Regions from separate parts of the Homo sapiens genome. Here regions 2, 3, 4, 5, 6 and 7 are each linked to region 1. Evidence: promoter capture Hi-C in 16 types of primary human blood cells and fetal thymus (Javierre and others, 2016). All regions are on one chromosome and are shown on one strand. Each heading gives the region's core, a stretch centred on a gene start or on the middle of the fragment in contact. The rest is flanking DNA. Distances are from core to core; before and after follow the strand shown. Region 1 holds the start of C7orf25 (chromosome 7 open reading frame 25). Region 2 has its middle 3.2 kb from the start of TMED4. Region 3 overlaps NUDCD3 (NudC domain containing 3). Region 4 overlaps YKT6 (YKT6 vesicular SNARE protein). Region 5 overlaps INHBA-AS1 (INHBA antisense RNA 1). Region 6 overlaps UBE2D4 (ubiquitin conjugating enzyme E2 D4). Region 7 has its middle 210 kb from the start of INHBA.

Evidence for each region. The method cuts DNA at HindIII sites, captures the fragments that hold promoters and counts their contacts. A CHiCAGO score of 5 or more calls a contact.
Region 2: a fragment that was not itself captured here is called in contact with the fragment with the promoter of C7orf25 in region 1 in 1 of 17 cell types (fetal thymus); the score reaches 6.2 in fetal thymus.
Region 3: a fragment that was not itself captured here is called in contact with the fragment with the promoter of C7orf25 in region 1 in 5 of 17 cell types (neutrophils, fetal thymus, non-activated CD4 T cells and 2 more); the score reaches 11.4 in neutrophils.
Region 4: a fragment that was not itself captured here is called in contact with the fragment with the promoter of C7orf25 in region 1 in 1 of 17 cell types (non-activated CD4 T cells); the score reaches 5.6 in non-activated CD4 T cells.
Region 5: a fragment that was not itself captured here is called in contact with the fragment with the promoter of C7orf25 in region 1 in 1 of 17 cell types (M2 macrophages); the score reaches 5.5 in M2 macrophages.
Region 6: a fragment that was not itself captured here is called in contact with the fragment with the promoter of C7orf25 in region 1 in 1 of 17 cell types (total CD8 T cells); the score reaches 5.0 in total CD8 T cells.
Region 7: a contact is called between a fragment that was not itself captured here and the fragment with the promoter of C7orf25 in region 1, in 1 of 17 cell types (megakaryocytes). The highest score is 5.3, in megakaryocytes.

The regions. Positions count from the first base shown.
Region 1 is chr7:42,910,649-42,913,531 of GRCh38, reverse strand. It overlaps C7orf25 (chromosome 7 open reading frame 25), which reads left to right and starts at 1,462. Exons shown (of 2, transcript NM_001099858.2): 1 at 1,462-1,617; 2 at 2,611-2,883. The coding sequence starts at 2,632. RefSeq lists a silencer at 1,631-1,890 and enhancers at 1,239-1,935, 1,936-2,633. The HindIII fragment of the contact is 2,903 bases long and covers 1,183-2,883 here.
Region 2 is chr7:44,584,021-44,586,903 of GRCh38, reverse strand. No RefSeq gene overlaps it. Among named protein-coding and RNA genes, the nearest start is that of TMED4, 3.2 kb to the right of the region's middle. The HindIII fragment of the contact is 1,147 bases long and covers 882-2,028 here.
Region 3 is chr7:44,484,469-44,487,351 of GRCh38, reverse strand. It overlaps NUDCD3 (NudC domain containing 3), which reads left to right. Exons shown (of 6, transcript NM_015332.4): 2 at 2,068-2,384. Among named protein-coding and RNA genes, the nearest start is that of NUDCD3, 4.7 kb to the left of the region's middle. The HindIII fragment of the contact is 6,811 bases long and covers 1-2,883 here.
Region 4 is chr7:44,203,179-44,206,061 of GRCh38, reverse strand. It overlaps YKT6 (YKT6 vesicular SNARE protein), which reads right to left. Exons shown (of 7, transcript NM_006555.4): 2 at 1,412-1,494. Among named protein-coding and RNA genes, the nearest start is that of YKT6, 3.6 kb to the right of the region's middle. The HindIII fragment of the contact is 5,882 bases long and covers 1-2,883 here.
Region 5 is chr7:41,736,865-41,739,747 of GRCh38, reverse strand. The region is part of intron 2 of INHBA-AS1 (INHBA antisense RNA 1); the gene reads right to left. Among named protein-coding and RNA genes, the nearest start is that of INHBA, 35 kb to the right of the region's middle. The HindIII fragment of the contact is 710 bases long and covers 1,071-1,780 here.
Region 6 is chr7:43,933,497-43,936,379 of GRCh38, reverse strand. The region is part of intron 1 of UBE2D4 (ubiquitin conjugating enzyme E2 D4); the gene reads right to left. Among named protein-coding and RNA genes, the nearest start is that of UBE2D4, 8.5 kb to the right of the region's middle. The HindIII fragment of the contact is 1,654 bases long and covers 701-2,354 here.
Region 7 is chr7:41,908,725-41,911,607 of GRCh38, reverse strand. No RefSeq gene overlaps it. Among named protein-coding and RNA genes, the nearest start is that of INHBA, 210 kb to the right of the region's middle. The HindIII fragment of the contact is 4,179 bases long and covers 1-2,883 here.

The DNA.
Region 1 (2,883 bases), core at 213-2,712:
GATGTTTTGAAATTTGGGATATGATTTTTACTACAGAAGAACCATTTCCTGTGCTCTGCTGTCTCCTTAAAAAAAGAAATCCTCTTGTTTCATAGCTGAAATATCTTTTATTTGAAGATGCTAGTTATAGAATACTTTTTGAGACCATTTTGTTCTGTTTTCCATTTCCTTCAAATAACAAAAACGTTGGGAAATGCTGTGTTCGTGAGGCTCACACTAGGGGATGCTGAATGTTGGTATTGCCGAGCCATTTCTCTAGGGTCTTTTGTCTACTCATTTCTTCAGAGAAAAATAGGGTTATGGGGAGATAGTGGTAGGGAGCGGTAGAGGGGTGCCTGCATTATGGGAGGGGCAGAGAAGGGGGCTGCTAGCATTGCACTATTCAGTAGGAAAACATCATGGCACCTCTCATCCTTTGTTAGGCTTTGTGTCTGGAATCCCTCTGATGCCCTGTCTTTAGCATCTTAAACTAGTCTTCTGCCTGAACAATTTACTGCCCTCCCTTCTACCTTCAAGGCACCTGAAGCTTTCTGGGGTTCTGCTTTGTGAATCAGTGGCTAAATATCCCCTTCTACAAGCAGTTTGCTCAGTTCTCCTGACACCATCTGCAAAGAGGGTGCTTGGGTTCAGGTAACCTCCCTATGGCTCACTTATCTGTAAAGCATACTTAATATCTCTACCTTTTAGGTTGTTTAAAGGAGTGAACAATGTGTAAAACACTTAGAACAATGTCTGTCACGCTGTAAGGACTGAATAAGTTATTGCTCTTGTCCTCCAAAAATGTGTTGGTATAACCGGTCTGCAGTCATCTCTTCTCTTGTTCTTTTTGCCTTTGTTTGTTCCCTTTGTCATTGCTTTACTGTTATTTGGAGAAGGAGCATTGCTTTACTGTTAAGTTTGGAGAAGGAGCAGGATACACAGGATTAATTATAACTGGAAGTCCTCTTTAATATTTTAAATTAGCTTTACTTTCTTACAGCCCTAATCTTTCTGGGTGACTCTGGACACTCTACTACAGTAATATGAATATGGCAGCCCCTCGGAAGCCATGCAATCATTTCTTCTCTTCAGAAGGACAGCACACTTTCTTTGGAGGGCCCAGGACAATGCAGTGGAAAGTGCTTTGGCTTGGAGGCAGAAGTCCCAGAGGCAGTACTTCTCAGCTGTCACCTCTGACAAGCTTCTCCAGCGTTTCTTCTGTTAAAATGAGCCCCCAAAATGCCTACGACCCGGTTGCGATCGAGTGGCCGACGCCCCCAGTGGGAGTGAGGCCCAGCACGCGAGCTCGGTCCCTCTTCCTGGAGCCAGGTGGGTGCGCGCCTTCAGGCTCACCCGGCGGCGCAAGCGGGAGAAGCCAGGTGCCCTCAATAAACATGGCCGCCACGCCAGCGTCAACCCGGCTCGGGAGGCCGCGCTGCCGCTTGGGAATCGCAGGTTTGGCGTCACCCGGCCCGGAACCACGTGATGCAGGAGGTGCCCGAGGCGGCGGGGCTCGCGCGGGTGGAGCCGCCTCGGCGTTCGAGCGGGGTGGGGGCTGCCCGGTTGAGATTTCCCGGCGGGTCCCGGCCTCTGCGTGCACGCGCCTGCGTGCTCGCGCTCGCGGTTCTGGCGCTGCCGGTGAGGAGCCGGGGAGCGAGGCGGGGAGGCTGGGAGCGGGGCGCCTCTTCTGAGGCCAGAGGGGGCTGGGCAGGGCCGGCCCGGCGGGAAGGGGGTCGGCCGCGCGCTATCAGCGCCTGGTCCCTGAGCCGCGGCGCTGGCGGTGGGGGCTTTTCGGCCCCGGCCCCTCCTGGCAGGGCCCGGCTGTGCAGGTGGCCGGGCAGGGCCGAGGGCCCCGCAGCCCACCGAGAAGGCCCCGCCGGCCTCTGGCCCGCCCACCCGGCGACCTGCGCTGGGGCCGCTTGCACGGCCGCCGCGGGTTGCAGCCTTGGAGTTTAGTTTCATCTTCGGATTTTCCTTCAGAGTCGGAGTGGGAGTGGGACGCAAGTTGGTGGTCTTCTTCGGTCTTTTAAAATAGTCTGGGTTGACGTCAAATGCAGAAATGAGGCAGTGTTGATTTTTTTTGGCGTAAGTACCCCAAGCCTCGGGGGAAATCATGAGGCAGCCGGTTGAAGGAGACCAACTCGGGAAGGAGGAAAAGGTTAGGGAGGCTGAAGTGCTCAGTTTAGGACAGACACTTGCTTTGGACAGTTTGCTAACTAGCCAGTCTGTGTGTATTTTTGTTTTCGGCATTTTTGTCGCCTTTATTAAAATTTCTCAGCAGTTAAACAGGCCGCTGATAGACATAAGGGAATTATTTATATAGCAGATTGCCCAACTCTTGCATTGTATCCTAACCTAGGACCATGCTGTGTCCCCATGGCTTTCAAGCTGAAGAAATGAAGGTCTAAAGTGTGTCAGACGTACCTAAAGAAGAGTTCAAAAGTGTAGCTGCCATCCTTTCCTTAGCTATCAGAGGAAGCAGTCACTCCAGAATGAGACATACACAAGCCCGGGTTCATAGACTCACCCTCCATAAGCTGTGTTGCTAGATTGAAGTTTTTAATCACCAGTGAAGAATTGATTGTCATAATTTTAGGAGACTACTGAAGTTTGCCTTGTTTCTTTCCCTAGGAAAGGAATAATGCTGACAGCATGTCTGCACATTCCATGCTCTGTGAACGAATCGCCATAGCCAAGGAACTGATCAAGAGAGCAGAATCACTTTCTAGATCAAGAAAAGGTGGCATAGAAGGTGGTGCAAAGCTGTGCAGCAAATTGAAGGCAGAATTAAAATTCTTGCAGAAAGTAGAAGCTGGGAAAGTAGCTATTAAAGAGTCTCATTTACAGAGCACTAACCTAACACACCTGAGAGCCATTGTGGAATCAGCAGAAAACCTGGAAGAA
Region 2 (2,883 bases), core at 206-2,705, 1.7 Mb before region 1:
TTTGGTCACCTGTGTTTTCCCATTAGAACAGTGGCTGGCACAAATGGCTGCACAGCACATACTGGTTGAACAAATGAAGGACGGGGTGGCTGGTCTAGACAAAGAGCCTAGACAAACATCGGCAGAAATTGCTTCATGGCTTCTGAGCAGAAAAATCTCTCATCTGGGGAATTAGACTCCCTAAGTTAAATTTTCTTTCTTTTTTGGAGATGGGGTCTCACTCTGTTGCCCAGGCTGGAGTGCAGCAGCACCATCACAGCTCACTGCAGCCTCAACCTCCTGGGGGTCAAGCAATCCTCCCACCTCAGCCTCCCGAGTAGTTGGGACTACAGGCCCATGCCACCATGCCCAGCTAATTTTTTTTTTGGTAGAGACAGGGTGTCACCATGTAGCCCAGACTGGTCTTGAACTTCTGGACTCAAGCGATCTTCCTGCCTCGGCCTCCCAAATGCTGGGATTACAGGCATGAGCCACAGTGCCTCACCTCCTAAGTTAAATTTTCTGCAGTGGAGAATACAATCTCTTTAATATTATCTCTCAGTTAAGACAAATTTCAGGATCCTCCTTAAAAAAAAAAAAAAAAAGAAAGAAAATAAGTTTGCCAATACAAATACCATTTCTCACTAAAGTGAATTAGGGTTCCTTGGAGAAATGGTTGGTTTTGTTTCTGGGCAGTAAATGTATAAAACGGAAAGCAAGGAAGTCCAGGGTGTCCAATCTTTTGGCTTTCCTGGGCCACACTGGAAGAAGAAGAATTGTCTTGGGCCACACATAAAATACACTAACAATAGCTGATGAGCTAAAAAAAAAAAAATCTCATAATGTTTTTAGAAAGTTTATGAATTTGTGTTGGGCTGCATGGGCCACAGGTTGGACAAGCTTGACCTAAAGACTACTAGGATTGTGGATTACTAGGATTGTGCCAGAAGGACACAGCAGCAACTAAATATTTGATGAGACAATCTGAACATTTAAAAAAGGACAATGACTGTAATGGATTAAAGCACATCAAATATCTAAACATCCATCAATTCATGATAGCACTGCCCCTTCTCCCCAAAGAACCCAAAGTGGTCACAGTTAGAGGTTGCTGGGGCATCCATCCATCCATCTTTATTATTATTACTATTATTTGAGACAAGGTCTCACTCAGTCACCCATGCTAGAGTGCTGTCGTCCCATCACGGCTCACTGTATCCTCAACCTCCTGGGCTCCAGCCATTTCCCTGCCTCAGCCTCCTAAGTAGCGGGAATTACAGGCATGCATCACCATGCCTGTCTAATTTTTACATATTTTGTAAAGATCTTGCCATTTCCTGGGCTCAAGCAGTCCTCCTGTCTTGGCCCCCCAAAGTGCTGGGATTATAGGCAGAGCCACTGTGCGTGGGAAAGCATCAAGCATACATCCTGGCTATCCCGAATGGATTGTATTTCAAAGTAACCAGAGAGATGAGGGAATGCTCACCTTTGTAGAAGAATCTCATCTTATAAATGCAGGAGAAATGAGAGCATTTGAAATTACCACTTTGCACACCTAAGGAACATCATAAAACTACACTAGGGTTTCTCAACCTGGGTACTACTGACATTTTGAGCTGGATAATTCTTCGCTGTGGGGGGGAGGTGTGCTCTGTGAATTATACAATGTTTAGCAGTATTCCTTGCATTCATTTTCTAGATAACAGCAGTACCACCCGCCACCCCCCACCCAGTTGCAACAATCCAAAATATCTCCAGACATTGCCAAATTTCCCCTTGGTAGGACAGGGCAGAATCAACCCTCGTTGAGAACCAATGGTCTAATGATCATCAACGTTTGCTAGACTATTAGAAGAAAGGCTGATGGTAAACTTCATGGATAATCAGGATGACAACCCCCAAATTGAGAGATGAATTACAATATTACTAAGAGACAAACCCGCCTTGTGCCTCAGTAGAAGTACATAGTGCCAGCCACGAAGCGTTATTGCAAACAAAACAAAACAAAAAAACCCAAACCTCAACATTACACCTAAACCTAATGAAGCTTCTAGCCAGGGGCAAATCCAAGCTTTGTGGGGCCTTAAACTATACAAATTTCACAGTCCTCTTTAAGAAAAAGACACAAAATTATAAATGCGAAATTAGGTACGGGGGTCTATGCAAGGGAGGGCCTGAAGATTAAGCTTCATTAGTTTCACTGTAAACCTCCCCTGACTCTAGAATTAACTGTGATTACAGGACATACCAGGGACAAAAAACGTTAAATGACACCTGAAGATACAATCAGCAAAACCCAGAAAGTGGAAAATTCTGTTGGTCAAATGACCCAGTTTCTTCAATAAGTAAATGCCATGAATAACAAACAACAAAAAGAGAGGGGAAATTTATATATATAATATATATATAATATGTATAATATATATATATGTTGTTATATGGTTTGTTTTTTTTTTTTTGGACACGAGTCTCTCTCTCACCCAGGCTGGAGTGCAGTGGCATGATCTCGGCTCACTGCAACCTCTGCCTCCTGGGTTCAAGCGATTCTTCTGCCTCAGTCTCCCAAGTAGCTGGGACTACAGGTGAGCACCACCACACCCAGCTAATTTTTGTATTTTTGGTAGAGGTAGGGTTTCACCATATTGGCCAGGCTGGTCTCGAACTCCTGACCTCGTGATCTGCCCACCTTGGCCTCCCAAAGTGCTGGGATTACAGGTGTGAGCCACTGCGCCCGGCCCTGTTTTTGTTTGTTTTGAGATAGAATCTCACTCTGTTGCCTAGGCTGGAGTACAGTGGCATCATCTCAGCCCACTGCAACCTCCACCTCCCTGATTCTAGCAATTCTCCTGCCTCAGCCTCCCAAGTAGCTGAGATTACAGGTGTGCACCACCACACCTGGCTAAT
Region 3 (2,883 bases), core at 110-2,609, 1.6 Mb before region 1:
ATGGGAGTGCTGGGCTGCATCATTGTGGAACTTCAAAGCGTTCCCTTAATATTTTGGGGAGTACAGTGTTGGTGTAGAGTTAGGCAGCTCATACGTTTCCTTTTAAAAGTTTGCATAGCCTGGATACACAGCTTGAAGAACCTCAGCAGGAATGATGTATGTGAAAATTGCATTCCATTTTATAATACATTAGTATGTTTTAAGACAAAAATCGTTTAGACTGACAAGCCATTCATTATAATCGATAATGCTGTTTTTTTTGGAGTCCACTTTGAGAAGTGCTCCTTTGTAGAAGTCCTTGAAACTAGAATCAGGAAAGCTAGCTACATCCTGTTCCTTACATAAATTGTTGAGAAATCTTGGGAGAGTCACTTCACCTCTTGTCAGCTGAGAAGATTGATTGGAGGTTACAGATTAGAGTTCTCTTCCAGCCCTATGTTCTGTGACTCTAGAATGAGTACTGAGAACATGTGATAGTTGGGAGGTTGGCAGTGGTAGCACTTCCTGGTGGTGTGAATGGGTAGGTCAGAGAAGGCTGGATGTACTGAGTGAGCAGAGGCAGCTGCATGGTGAGGACTATCAAGTCTGGGGGTTCTGTGTTCGAAGTCTCAGGTGTTAGGAGAGAGAGATCTTGTTGCTTTGCTTTTGTGGAGTTAAGATGAAGATCTGGAGTATCAGCAGGATGAGCAACTCTGAAAGCATGGACTCAAAGCGGTAGAGACCCTAATGTTAGAATGAAGTCAGGGCTTCAGGTTATCTGCAGAAGTAAAAATGGTTCTGGTGTTGTTTCCAGTTTTTAACCTTTTAGGATTTTATTGATTTTTTTTTTTCCCCTCTGCCTACATCATCATCTCCCCACACTGTTTGGTGTGTGCTGCGTAGTTTTTTACTTCTTTTGCCAGCAGGAGCTGGGGCAAGTTACGTAACCTTTCCAAGCCTTATTTTTTTCTCATTTTTGAAATGTTGATGCTGTCTTCTTCACAGTATTTTTGTGAGGGTTTTGAGAGAATGTTTGTAAAATAATTTGACACAGTTAGTCTGTTAGCACCCTTTTGACTGCCCGCGCAGTGCACAGAACATTGTTATTTAATACCTGTCCGCATTCTAGCCCTTTGGAATCTGACTCCCACCCATGTCCCAGGTTGCTGTCTCAGCCTTTCCTTCCTCCAGTTATTGCAAGAGCTTTTGCCCTTCCTTGACAAGCCTATTCTTAGAGCTGTGGCATTTCCTCCAGTGGTTCCCTGTGGAAGATGTGCCTCTCATTCAGGGTCTAACTGGGATCCTCCTTGTTCCAAGAAGTCTCCCTAGATTTCTTTCGCCAGACATGCTCATTCCCACCCATACCCTGACAGGGAATTGAGGGCCTTGTCATGCCCCCTCTTGTATCAGAGTTTTCATGTGTGGGTATGTCTTGACTGTACTTTTTTGGTAGAGAGGTCCCAGCACCTTCATGGGTGTGACTGTTTCCCAGAAAATGTTAAGAACTTGTTTACACACCAGAATTTTGAGTTCTTAGGAGGCAGCAGAAATCATTTTGATGTTTTTTGTGCGTGCGTGTTTCTTGCACACTGTAGGCGCATAGTAGATGTTTGTTGAATTGAATGTCCATGCAGTGTGGTGAAAAACAGCAGCAGTCCTGTAAACCTGGTTCCATTTTGGGAATTGAAGTTCAGCCATATTTTCATGTTTCATTTGTGAGTCTGAATTTTGGTGCCTTTATAACCCACAGTTGTACCAGGACCGTGTATTCTTTGCATTGTGAACAAGACTGGGGTCTGTAAAATAATGACAACAAAGACCATCTAACTGTACATCTTTTAGGTATGTAAATATTGTTAGCCTTGGCTTATAAGTTTCTGATTTTGTTGATTTTGGAATCCTCCTGTTAAACACTGTTTACCTGTCAGCTTTTGGTGAAGTGGCAGTGCATTTCCATTTTGCCAGTGGGAAAACTTGTCAGTTTCTGACTTTTAGTTCTCTCCTTCACAGATTTTACGACATTTCTACAAGATATGTGGTACAGTATTGGGCAGATGAACTGATTGCTGGATTGGTGTTTGATTTTAGGTATTCAAAACCTTTGACCACATGGCCCGTCAGGATGATGAGAAGAGAAGGCAGGAACTTGAAGAGAAAATCAGAAGAAAGGAAGAGGAAGAGGCCAAGACTGTGTCAGCTGCTGCAGCTGAGAAGGAGCCAGTCCCAGTTCCAGTCCAGGAAATAGAGATTGACTCCACCACAGAATTGGATGGGCATCAGGAAGTAGAGAAAGTGCAGCCTCCAGGCCCTGTGAAGGAAATGGCCCATGGTTCACAGGAGGCAGAAGCTCCAGGAGCAGTTGCTGGTGCTGCTGAAGTCCCTAGGGAACCACCAATTCTTCCCAGGTGGGAATTTCTACTTTGCAGCTTCCTTCTTTCTTGCGTAACATCTGGTGTTTGGGTTTCTCCATAATTTATTCTTACTTTGTAACACATTAATTCTTGATCTCAGTATTTATTTAGCTCTTCATGTTTGTAAACTGCTGCATTACAGTCTTTCAGTTATGTAGGATGGGAGGTCAGTTGGCTTAAGGTCAGTTCCCTCATTTGGTAAGGTCAGTAGTCATACAACCATTTGAGATCCAGAGCCAAAATTAGAGCACTTGACTCCTCTCACAAAGACCTAACTTTATCTGTGTTTAGAGGCTTAGCCTCAGCAGCTCGATTGTTTGTGTTTTTCTCTCTGCAGGAGCACTGCTAGGATTTGCTCATGATGCCTGAGGTATAATGGACACCTGAAATGACAGTCTGTTTTAGGTGACTGGATTCACATCCTCGCTATGCCGCTTCCTGAATGTATTACCTTGAACAAGCAGTATAACCTTTCTGTGTCTCAGTTTTCTTC
Region 4 (2,883 bases), core at 247-2,746, 1.3 Mb before region 1:
GGGTCAGGCCAAGCTATATCTTAGGGATCTGGAGCCCTTGGGGCTCTGTGCTGCTCCCAAACTTAGGGAACCCTGGACAAGCCAAGAGGCCTCTGCTTTCTTAAAAAATCTTTTCAGAGCAGCCAAAAGACAGGAAATTACCCCCCAGGGCCTCAGTCTTCCATATTATAGCAACCTGCTGGGTTTGCTCCACTCTGGTGGGTGACTGGGAGTAGGGGGGTTAGTCTAGAAAAAGATTAGCTACTGCCAGCTAAGGCCTCCAGAGCACTGTGCTAAAATCCTCATATGATTGAAAGGTACAGTTGTACAGGTCTTCCGCAAAATATTCACAATCCACAGGATTGTTCATTTCCATCACTTTGAAAGGATTCAGAGTTGATACAGCTAACCATATCCCCAAGGAAAGAGAAATGTAAGGATTACAGCTTACAAATAAGAACCTTCTTGTCCTTAAGGATCTGACCCAGAAGATTCCAATGCTAAACAACAGAAAAACAAATAAAAGAGGAGGGAATGATGGTGAGCCCCTGAAATCAGAAAAGAGCAGAGATAAATGAGAACAAGAATGAGGAGGAGGAAGAGGACAGGGGGTTGTCACCAATGCTCTCCAGATTTTGTATACCATCCCCAATTAAGATTCAAACATGGGGTCAAAGTGCATACCCTCCAAAGAAACTGAGAACCTGGTCAGTGGAGGAATTGTCTTTAAGTAATAAACGTGGGAAGGGCAGGCACAGTTTGAAGAACAGAGCAAGAACACTGAAATATTTGTGATGCGATTTCACTTCTATGATGTTAATAGCACAGAGATCCCACATAAAGTGTATATAGTCAATCCTGCCTGTATCATAACTGACATTTATATCATCAATTCAGTAACTCTATGTCACGTGACTTGAGGTTAGCATAAGTGTGAGATGATCTTTGTCCCTACCTGATGAAACTCATGTAACTCTTTCCTGATCTGTCTGTATAACATACACATCTAAATAAATGCCTAAACCTGAATTATCAGAAAGAAAAAATAGTTTTTTCAGATTCCTGATCAAAAAATCTACGATGCACAGAATACATATAGTACCTCAACAGTGCTAGCTGGAAATCCTTTTTTGAGGGGTCTGCAACTCTGAAGAGGATAGGGAAGAATACGATATGAAGGCTGCTTACTGCTCCAAAAGAGTCAGACCCTAATCTTAAATGAGTCTAAGTTTGAGGGCAATTTTATCTGGGAAGCTCAGACTTCAACAGTGGGCACAGAATTCTGCATAAATAGGAAAAGGAAGAGGTGGGAAAGAGAGAACAAGCTAGAGGAGGAGTAGGGTCCCAGTAGAAAGGAGAAAGCTGGGTGCTATGTGAGGTGAGGCATGGCAGCCAGGCCAGCACACGCACAGAAGTTGGAGGGTCTTCTTACCTTGTTCTTTGACAGAAGCTCTAGTGCCTTTCGATGAGCGCTCCACAATCAGTTGACTCGTGAAGGTCATGAATTCCTGAACGCTAAGAAACACAAAATGTATTTATTGCCTACTTCTTATCACCTTGTCCCCAACACAGTGGAAAGTGACCTCTGGGCTTATACATTAAGTAGACATTGCTTCTTGGTTTCATTCCTTTCCCTCCCATCCCTAGTAACAAACACTCTATAAATGAGCACAAATACTGATAATTATGAATTATCATCACCATGAAAGCTCCATCTGTTTGCTACCTGGCTCACCAAAACAGGTGAATTTTCTGGGGGGTTTTTCCACAGGATACAGTCAATTTTACATTTTGGTGAATGCATAATTTGGAATGCAATGGAAAAACAAGAGGCAGGTCCTGCTCTCAAGGTCCCAATAACTTCCAAGAAGCAGGACATTTATAAGAACTGCACTAGAAGAATAGTGTGCAAAAACTGTCAGGCAGAAATGCACAACCATTTATGGCTGTGTCCACATGACAGACCCTCGCAATGCCACATACACCCATAGTGAGTGCTGGCTCAGGTCTGCTGGGGCTCGTCCACAGAACGAGCGCAAGACACTCTGGATGGAACAAAAGGAAAACTGCTCATCCAAGACAAAGAAGTGGGAAATGGCTCATACAAAGGGTGAAAGGGAGAAGGTCCATCATGGGCTCAACAGAGAGATCTATCCAGAACAGAACAGTCACAGGAGATGGTACAGCCAGAGGAAGAGGTGCTGACAAGGAGCCTCCAACTGAGGATGTGATATAAAGGGCAACCAGGGCCATCAAAGCAGGGTGCTCAAATGGGAGTCTGCAGCAGGCTCCAGCAGAGCCATATAGGTAACTGAAGGCCTGACTCTGGGCCTGTGTGCTGTGCCTCCACATTAAAAAAATCAAGATTTGTGCAACAGTTAAACGAGGTAATACGTGTAAAGCACTTGGAACAATGCCTGCACACACAGTATTACTTGTTAATATCTTGAGGGACTGAAGTGATCAAAATAACCCCTCAGAAAAGAAGACCTCAAACAAGGAAGGCTTTGCAGTAAACCTAGAGACAGCATTTGAGACACGGCTATAAAGAGACAAAGGAAGAACTGCATTGTGACAGCATGTATACAAAGACCAAAAAAGCTGGGAAACTACTTTTTCAACTTTGGAATCGGGTAATTATAGGGCACAAAGGACGTAAGTAAAGCGGTCTTATAAGAAAACAAGCTCAGGCCGGACGTGGTGGCTCAAGCCTGTAATCCTAGCACTTTGGGAGGCCAAGGCAGGCGGATCACTTGAGCTCAGGAGTTCGAGACCAGCCTGGCTAACATGGTAAAACCCCATCTCTACTAAAAATACAAAAATTAGCCGGGTGTGGTGGTGCGCGCCTGTAATCCCAGCTACTTGGGAGGCTGAGGCAGGAGAATCACTTGAACCCAGGAGGCG
Region 5 (2,883 bases), core at 176-2,675, 1.2 Mb after region 1:
CATTAGCCCACTGTTCATTCTCCTGTGACTTAGATTTTCTATTATCTTCATTGTCACTAAGCATTTTTCAATTCCTATGTGAAACATACCATTGATGTCTTCAAGATTAATAATTCTGCCTTCCTGAAGACAGAATTAAATACAGTGATAACTTATGAGATATTGGATGAGTTTTACTGGCCAACTCAAAAACCCATTACTTGATAGAGCCATTGAGGTTTAATACAATGAATGCCAAGAAAGATCTAGCAGCCATAATTTCAAATGCTACCAAAATGTTACTAAAAATGAGTAATATTTTAAAACATTCCTGCAATTATGTCTTGGTAAATTTTAATTTATGGAGAGCCACAGTTCATAAAATATCGAGGGGCTGATGCTGGACAGGTTGAAGAATCATACAAATCTCAACTAGACTTGGCAGAGGACTTCACAATAATTTGGTGTTCCTTATAATTTGGTGAAGTGAGTTTTCCCTTCAAGGAGACAGAGGCATGGAGACATTTGATAGTATACCTATTACAGAAATGAAGTCAGTGGTAGAGCCAGAATTAAAACTCAGGGCATCTGAGGATCCTATATCTGATATCACCCATTTAGCCACATAAAGGATGAATTGAGTCACCAGTGAAAATTCTGGGGGAGGGGGCCCTAAAATAATTTCTTCTGACTATGCTACATCTTATCTTGCCACACTGTGGGTGACAGAGCCTGTCCTCATTATCTTATGCCCAACCATGAGCCCTTGTGTAGGAGAAGTGAGAAAAATGAAGTCTGTGGTGTGATTTTGATTGTCATGTGGGAAGAGGATGTAAACGGCTCCCTCCTCATGGACTGGGGATCTGAGTGTGCAGGCCTTTAAACATGGATCCAGGGCACGGCTCTCTCTTCTCTGCCTGACAGCTGAGAGCGCACCTCCTACTTCCTTGGCCACAAGCACACATTTTTAATAAGACATCAGTTGAGCAGTAGAATATCGGATATGAGTTTTAATTGCATTCTGCTTCCCATAAGTTCTACCCCCTCATTGTTAAGGAAAGTATCACTACCTTTGGGTTCACAAAGAAGCTTTCTTGATGGGCAGTCTCCAAATTTTACATAAAAATTCTGATGAAGATAATACCCACTTCACCAGCGTGTGGTGCAAAATAATGTCTCCTTTCTTCTGGTGTCCAAATCCTATTGACTCCAAGCCTTTGTTCCACTGATCGCGAGAAAGCTCTCCCTCTGCATGTGCTTCAAATGCATTCTAAGTGGAAGGGGACCCGTGGTGATTAATAACCCTTTGCAGAGGAGGAAACTGGGAAGTCTGGCCATTTCCTCTGAGGGAGTGCTTTCTCTACTGCCATTGTCACTGCCTGGTGTGATCAGCAGGTGAATATTCTAGGGCAAGGCCACAAGCCCCAAAGCACTGAAGAGCACCTGGCCTTACTTCTGAATCCAGGGTGAGGAAGAAACTGCTTTTCCTCTCAGGCTTATTCTCATCTATGGGTGCTTCACACCACTCCCAGCCCAAATTCCAAGATATAATCCTATCACTTTATACTCAGACACAGACATTTTCTCCAGGGCGCATCATGGTGCCTGGACACTGGTTCGGGGGCGGGGAGAGGAGGTTACAGAACCCGATTTGCCAGAAAGTGCTCACCCCACCAACAACAAGGCCCCAGCGTTAAGCCTAAATCCACCTCTCCTGGGAGCCCCTTGTCTCATCTGTTGGCCTCATCCAGAAAAACACCATGATATCAGATATCCTCTAATAACTCAAAACCTCAAAGCTTTCATTTCTTTCCTTGCAGATGGCTATTTGGCCCTTAATAGAAATCTGTTGCTACAAATAGATGCAGATGAGAGGGGCAGTGCCCAGCTTTATCCACCTGGGAAAATTGTGCCTCAGCAACTTGCTATATTCACAAGATCATGGTTTGCTTGCCTCATATCACAAATGGCTACCTATTCTCCCCCCCAGAAAATTATTTGTTGTGCTGCTAAAACTAGAAATAACTGGAGCTGTTTGATGTCAGTTTTCAAAAAAATAAAAATAAAAATAAAACAAACAAACTAACTAATCAAAAAGATCCACTAACATGTCTTGGGCTAAGTGGTCGTCTCAATAAAAACATTGTTGTTGAGGAAGAAGAGAGAGCTCTGATAAAATAGTTTTGTGTATGAAACAGTAACCATCAACATAGATGTTCTGAATATGTTATGGACCAAGAGAAAGCTCATGAAATCTAATATGGCAAAGAAACTGAGGGTTGGAGGAAGAAAACTCCACCTCAGTCATATAGATCCCAGAAGATGCCCAAGTGCTGGATAATGAGGAAACAGATATCAGAGTGACCTGCCAGGACCCAAGTGGACCAGAGTTAAGAACATTCCACACATCCTTTCTGTGGACAAAGTTAAGGCTGGGCAGATTGCACCCCACTCAAGTTTAGGTAGGGTGGAATAGCATCTAACATAAGCCTAGATTCAGCATATAAGGCAAATGTTATGTATAATTAAAATATCTTGAAAAATCTCACAATCCATCCATAGGTTCAGAAAGTATTGTTTTGTGGGCATAACCCCAGAAGAACATCAGGTTCGCATCTATTTCTCTATTCTTGGGCATACGCATTGAGTGACAGGTGGTATCACCTACGGCATTGTCATGTTCTCTCTTTTTCTCAAGTGCATAGAGTTGGAGTCACGTGAGTTGCATGTGTATATGACGTGGCTACATTGTATGCGGGAAGGGGAAGCATGTCCATGTGGCATCTTGAAAAAACTAATCACACAAGGGAAAGGCAGTATCTGTCAGAAAATACAAAAGAAAAGCATACCTCTAAAATAGTTTTGGTATTGAAACACAGAAAAACTTTTTTTTTTTTTTTGCTG
Region 6 (2,883 bases), core at 278-2,777, 1.0 Mb before region 1:
AATAGTAGTAGAGAAGAGTTAAGCAAACCATGGTACACACTCAGTTATTCCTTTACGGTGTTTCGTCAACTCCAAGACTCCATCCTTTATAAGACACAATTTTACTTTACATACAATTAGGAAAAAAAAAACATGCTGGCAAATAAACTAACACAAATGCTTTCTTTGCACATAAACTTTAATTGTATTTAAAAATTACTTTTATCAGGCTGTGTACAGTGGTTCATGCCGGTAATCCCAGCACTTTGGGAGGCCGAGGTAGGCAGATCGCCTGATGTCAGGAGTTCGAGACCAGTTTGGCCAACATGGTGAAACCCTGTCTCTACTACAAATACAAAACTTAGCTGGGCTTGGTGGCATGTGCCTATAACCAGCTACTCAGGAGGCTGAGGCACAAGAATCGCTTTAGAGGGTGATGCCATGGGCAGGGCAGAGCATCTGGGGTCTTTTGGGAGCCTCCAATCCCCAACAGTTTCGCAGAACACTGATATCTATGGACTCTAAAATGGGCTTCATTTAAAGAAACCCACAGACCATTAATGGACAAAAACATGAATCTATATGTATTGTGACATTCCAGTCCTGGCACTGTGGGAGAGCATCAAGTACCACGTTTTTGAAGACCATGGCCTATCATCATTATGCGTTCAAGATCTGAGTTTGAATAACCTCATCAAGACTTAGATCTTCTTCAAAAGCTTCAAGTCTCATCTGCATTAAAGCTCTCCATTGAACCCTCTCACAAAAGTGCAAACTTAAAGGGACTAAAATCCGTTAACACATTCCATTTTATATCCCTTCTTCTGACTTCTCTTCAATTTCCTTGGCCTCTGGGGCCCTTTATATTGCTTATGTTCCTTTAGGGCCAAAGTGACAGTGCTTTCCAAAAAAAAAAATATGTATTCTGTGGCCATAAGTTTACAGAGAAGCATAAATTTAGCATGATGAATTTAGAATTAGGTCTTTTATGGTATTCTGTAAAAAGTTGAATTAATAATAAGAAAATGAGGATGAAGCAGTAAAAATATTTTGGGTTAGAATATACTCTCCAAAGCTATGTGGTTTAGAGAAAAGGGCCCCCAACCTAAAAGTTAATAGTTCTTATTCTGTCTCTGCCTTTTACTAGGTAACTGAGAAAGTCACTTAACCTCTCTGAACCTTAACTTCATTATCTATAAAGCGTAACTGATATTTTCCCCTCCCTACCTCACAGGGTTGTTGTGAGGAACAAGTGAAACAATGTACATAAAAAGACATATAAAATGTATAATACAGACAAAGGGTCCTGTTACGTAGTTGGAAGTCATTCCCTCAGATCTTGGGCCTAGGAAGATAGGTGATTTAAGCTCACTGAAAGCATGTACCATGTCCAGGCTGAATACATGGTAACAAGGCTATGTTACATTTTTTTTTTCCCTGAGTTGAGTACCTAAAATACCACATGGGCTAATTCTAAGAAGGAGCACCACTATATATTTCCCTAAAATTATAGCTTAGCATTGTTAATGCTCTAGAGCAGTTATGCATTGTAACATATTAGTGATTTGTGAAAGATTTTTACTAAAACGTGACCAGCATTTTTCTTTAAATGAAAGAATGTAGAATATTTCACAATGCATCCCATGTGATGAGAAAAAATATTTTTTTTAGTTATATGTACATATGCATGTGTGTGAATGTGTGTGTGTACTTGGTCATTAAATAAAATGTACTTTTTCTTCTTGTGGGAAAAAAAAAAAAGAATTGCTTTAGCCCGGGAGGTGGAGGTTGCAGTGAGCCAAGACTGCGCCTGTGTGACAGAGTGAGATTCTGTTTCAAAAAATTAAAAAATTAAAATTACTTTTATCAAAAGAATTATTTTAGGCTTAAACATAGCTTTGTGTGTTTCTTGTTAAGTATCATTCATGAATACAAAAAAAAAAAAAAGGAAAAACAAGTGAAATAAATAAACTGGTTTGTTCAGGTATTCCTAAAGTTTCTTCCCATTCAGAGCCCAACACTGAGTCATTGATGTCTACACAATATCATCCTCTGTGTCTTCCAAAACAATGGTAATGTGGCAATTCTTAGAGTCCTCTACTACTCTTCCTGGAGTTTTCTTTCAAGCCATGAATACTTATTCTGCAAAGGCCCATGATACACAATCTATTTGCACGTATTCCAGAAAAAAAAAAATGACCCAGTCTCACCAACTTGAGGGTAGGTGGTACCTTCCTTTCTGTGGCTATGAAGAATTTGGTTGCTTGACATGGAATTAGGAAATTCCAGTCCTTCCTCCAACAACAAATATTTGCTCCCTTATTATGAAATTTACTCGTCGTTGTCCTGTTTCTGTGCCTGTGTTCACAAAAGCTTTTCTTTTCAGTGCTAAATCACACTATCTTTTTGAAAATATTTTTAAAACAATTAAACTCAACAAATATAGTACCAGCAATGCACTTACCTCATAATGAACTGCCATGATGGTTTACTCATACAGATAGTGACATCTAAGTGAAGGTAACCTGGCTGACAGCTATTGTAAGAAGCATCCCAATTTCAGAGACGTGAACATTTGAAAAAATATTCATCTTGAAGTAGATGAATATGGTATTATCTTATTTCCAAGTTCTCTTTATTTTTTATTTTTATTTTTAGAGACAGGGTCTCACTGTGTTGCCCAGACTGGAGTACACTGGCACCATCTCGGCTCACTGCAACCTCTGCCTACTGGGTTCAAGCAATTCTGGTGTCTCACCCTCCAGAGTAGCTGGGACTGATTACAGGAACGCACCACCATGCCCAGCTAATTTTTGTATTTGTAGTAGAGATGAGTTTCACCATGTTGGCCAGGCTGGTCTCAAACTCCTGACCTCAAGCGATCCTCCTGCCTCAGCCTCCCAA
Region 7 (2,883 bases), core at 147-2,646, 1.0 Mb after region 1:
TTATGTTTCCTCCTTGAGGGTATAATTCAGGTGTAGGGAGGATCTTGATCAATGGGCTATTACATAGGTAAGTAAATCAAAAGAACGGGGAAGAGAAAAATGTAAAACCACTAGCAGTTAAGCTGTTATATTTTAACTTGCAAATGACTTAAGGAAAGATTCTAGGGCCTGAATAAACTAAAATAAATCTTATGCAAGTGTTAAGTATTCTTGTAGTGCTCTTTGCATAATCTGTGCTTCTAGGGTGACCTTCATTTCAATCTGGGAGGAATTCTTCATCATCTCTCCTTGATGAAAAGTGTTGAATATCAACGTCTCTGGAATGGAATTACTTCTTGAGAAAAGGCCAGATGGACCAGATCTATATTACTTTCATGGTGTATTAGTTATCTACTGCCTGTAAGAAATTATCCCAGAACTAAGTGGCTTAGCACATCAGGCATTTATTATCTCAGTTTCTGTGAATCATGAACTTGGGTGTGATTGAGCTGGGTGGTTCTGGCTCTGGGTTTCTCATGCACTTGCAATCAAGGTGTCTTCCAGGGCTGCAGTCATCTGGAGATGTGAATGCAGCTGGAGGGTCTGCTTCCAGGCTCAGTCACGTGGCAGTCATCAGGAGGCCTCAGTTTCTCCTAGGAGACTCTCCATAGGTCAGCAGGAGCATCCTTCCAATACGGCAGCTGCTTCCCCCAGAGTGAATGACCCAAGAGAGAGAGTAGAATAAAAGCCAAAATACCTTTTATGATCTGTCATCCGGAGTCGCACTGCTTTATTTCTGTCACACTTCAGTGTCAGCACGAGCCCACATTTAAGGCGGGAGAAAAATCAAAGAATTTGTGGAAGTGTGTTAAAACAGCACAGATAGTAAATATTAAAGATAGTTAAAATGCAAATTCAAAGAAAAGAAAAACTATCAATTTAATAGAATAACATAATTTTTATTAAAAATTAAAAATTTAAATTTTAAATTTAAAATATTACTTTAATAGAATTAAAGCATAAAAAGAAAACAGCTTTAATTAGCAGTAGAATAAGCCATCCAATGGAAATGAGAGAAAAATCACATCTTTGATTATTTAAAGACCATAAGAGATGGTAGAGTTTTCATGAGCTATCTTCACAGCTTCCTCTCCCCATCACTTAAAAAATTATTTTACTGAAGTAATATATGCACATGCTTAAAATCATTAAGTGGCGCCAAACTCCGATAATAGTGTCTTTTGCTCCAAGCCTCCCCAGCCAATAGTCCTACACTCTAGAGGCAAACACTTTAATTCCTGTGTTGATTCTTTATATGTTAACTCTCTATCTCCACATACGTCTCTGCTATTATTTCTAGGTTTACCAATTTGAGATATTTTCTATTTACTAACCGTTACTGTTACCGGAAAGGGGTCCTGACCCAGACTTCAAGCGAGGGCTCTTGGACCTCACACAAGAAAGAATTTGGGACAAGTGCATAGAGTAACGTGAAAGCAAGTTTATTACGAAAGGAATGGAATAAAGAATGACTGCTCCATAGGCTGAGCAGGGAGATGGGTTGCTCAACTGAGTATACTTATAGTTATTTTTTGATTATATGCTAAACAAGGGGTGGATTATTCATGAGTTCTCTAGGAAAGGAGCAAGGATTTCCCAGAACTGAGGGTTCTTCCCTGTTGCAGGAAGTCAGGGACCCTGAACAGAGGGACCGGCTGGAGCCGTGGCAGAGGAACATAAATTGTGAAGATTTCATGGACATTTATCACTTCCCAAATAATACTTTTATAATTTCTTATGCCTGTCTTTACTTTAATCTCTTAATCCTGTTATCTTCGTAAGCTAAGGATGTACGTCACCTCAGGACCACTGTGACAATTGTGTTAACTGTACAAATTGATTGTAAAACACGTGTGTTTGGACAATAAGAAATCAGTGCACCTTGAAAAAGAGCAGAATAACAGTGATTTTTAGGGAACAAGGGAAGACAACCGTAAGGTCTGACTGCCTGTGGGGTTGGGCAAAAAGAGCCATATTTTTCTTCTTGCAGAGAGCCTATAAATGGACGTGCAAGTAGGAGAGATATCACTAAATTCCTTTCCTAGCAAGAAATATTAATATTAATACCCTGGGAAAAGAATGCATTCCTAGGTGGAGGTCTATAAACGGCCACTCTGGGAATGTCTGTCTTACGTGTTTGAGATAGGGACTGAGATACACCCTGGTCTGCAGTGCCGTCAGGCTTACTAGGGTGGGGAAAATCTCCACCCTGGTAAATTTGTGATCAGACCAGTTCTCTGCTCTTGAACCCTGTTTTCTGTTATTTAAGATGTTTATCAAGACAATATGTACACTGCTGAACATAGACACTTATCATAGTTCTGCTTTTGTCCTTTGCCTTGTGATCTTTGTTAGACCTTTACTAGTAGTTCTGCCTTTTGCCCTTCGAAGCATGTGATCTTCGTACCTACTCTCTGTTCTTACACCCCCTCCCCTTTTGAAACCCTTAATAAAAACTTGCTGGTCTGAGACTCAGGCGGGCAGCACGGTCCTACTGATATGTGATGTCACCCCTGGCAGCCCAGCTGCAAAATTCCTCTCTTTGTACTGTCTCTGTTTATTTCTCAGCTGGCCGACACTTATGGAAAATAGAAAGAACCTACATTGAAATATTGGGGGTGGATTCCACCAATACTCCCCTTTCTAGACTATATAGGAGAACTTCCAGATGTTGCCATGGCATTTGCAAACTGTCATGGTGGGAGTGTTTTTTAGTGTGCTAATGCATTATAATTAATGTATAAGGAACAGTGAGGACAACCAGAGGTCACTGTCATTGCCATTTTGGTTTTGGTGGGTTTTGGCTAGCTTCTTTACTGGGTCCCATTTTATCAGCAAGGACTT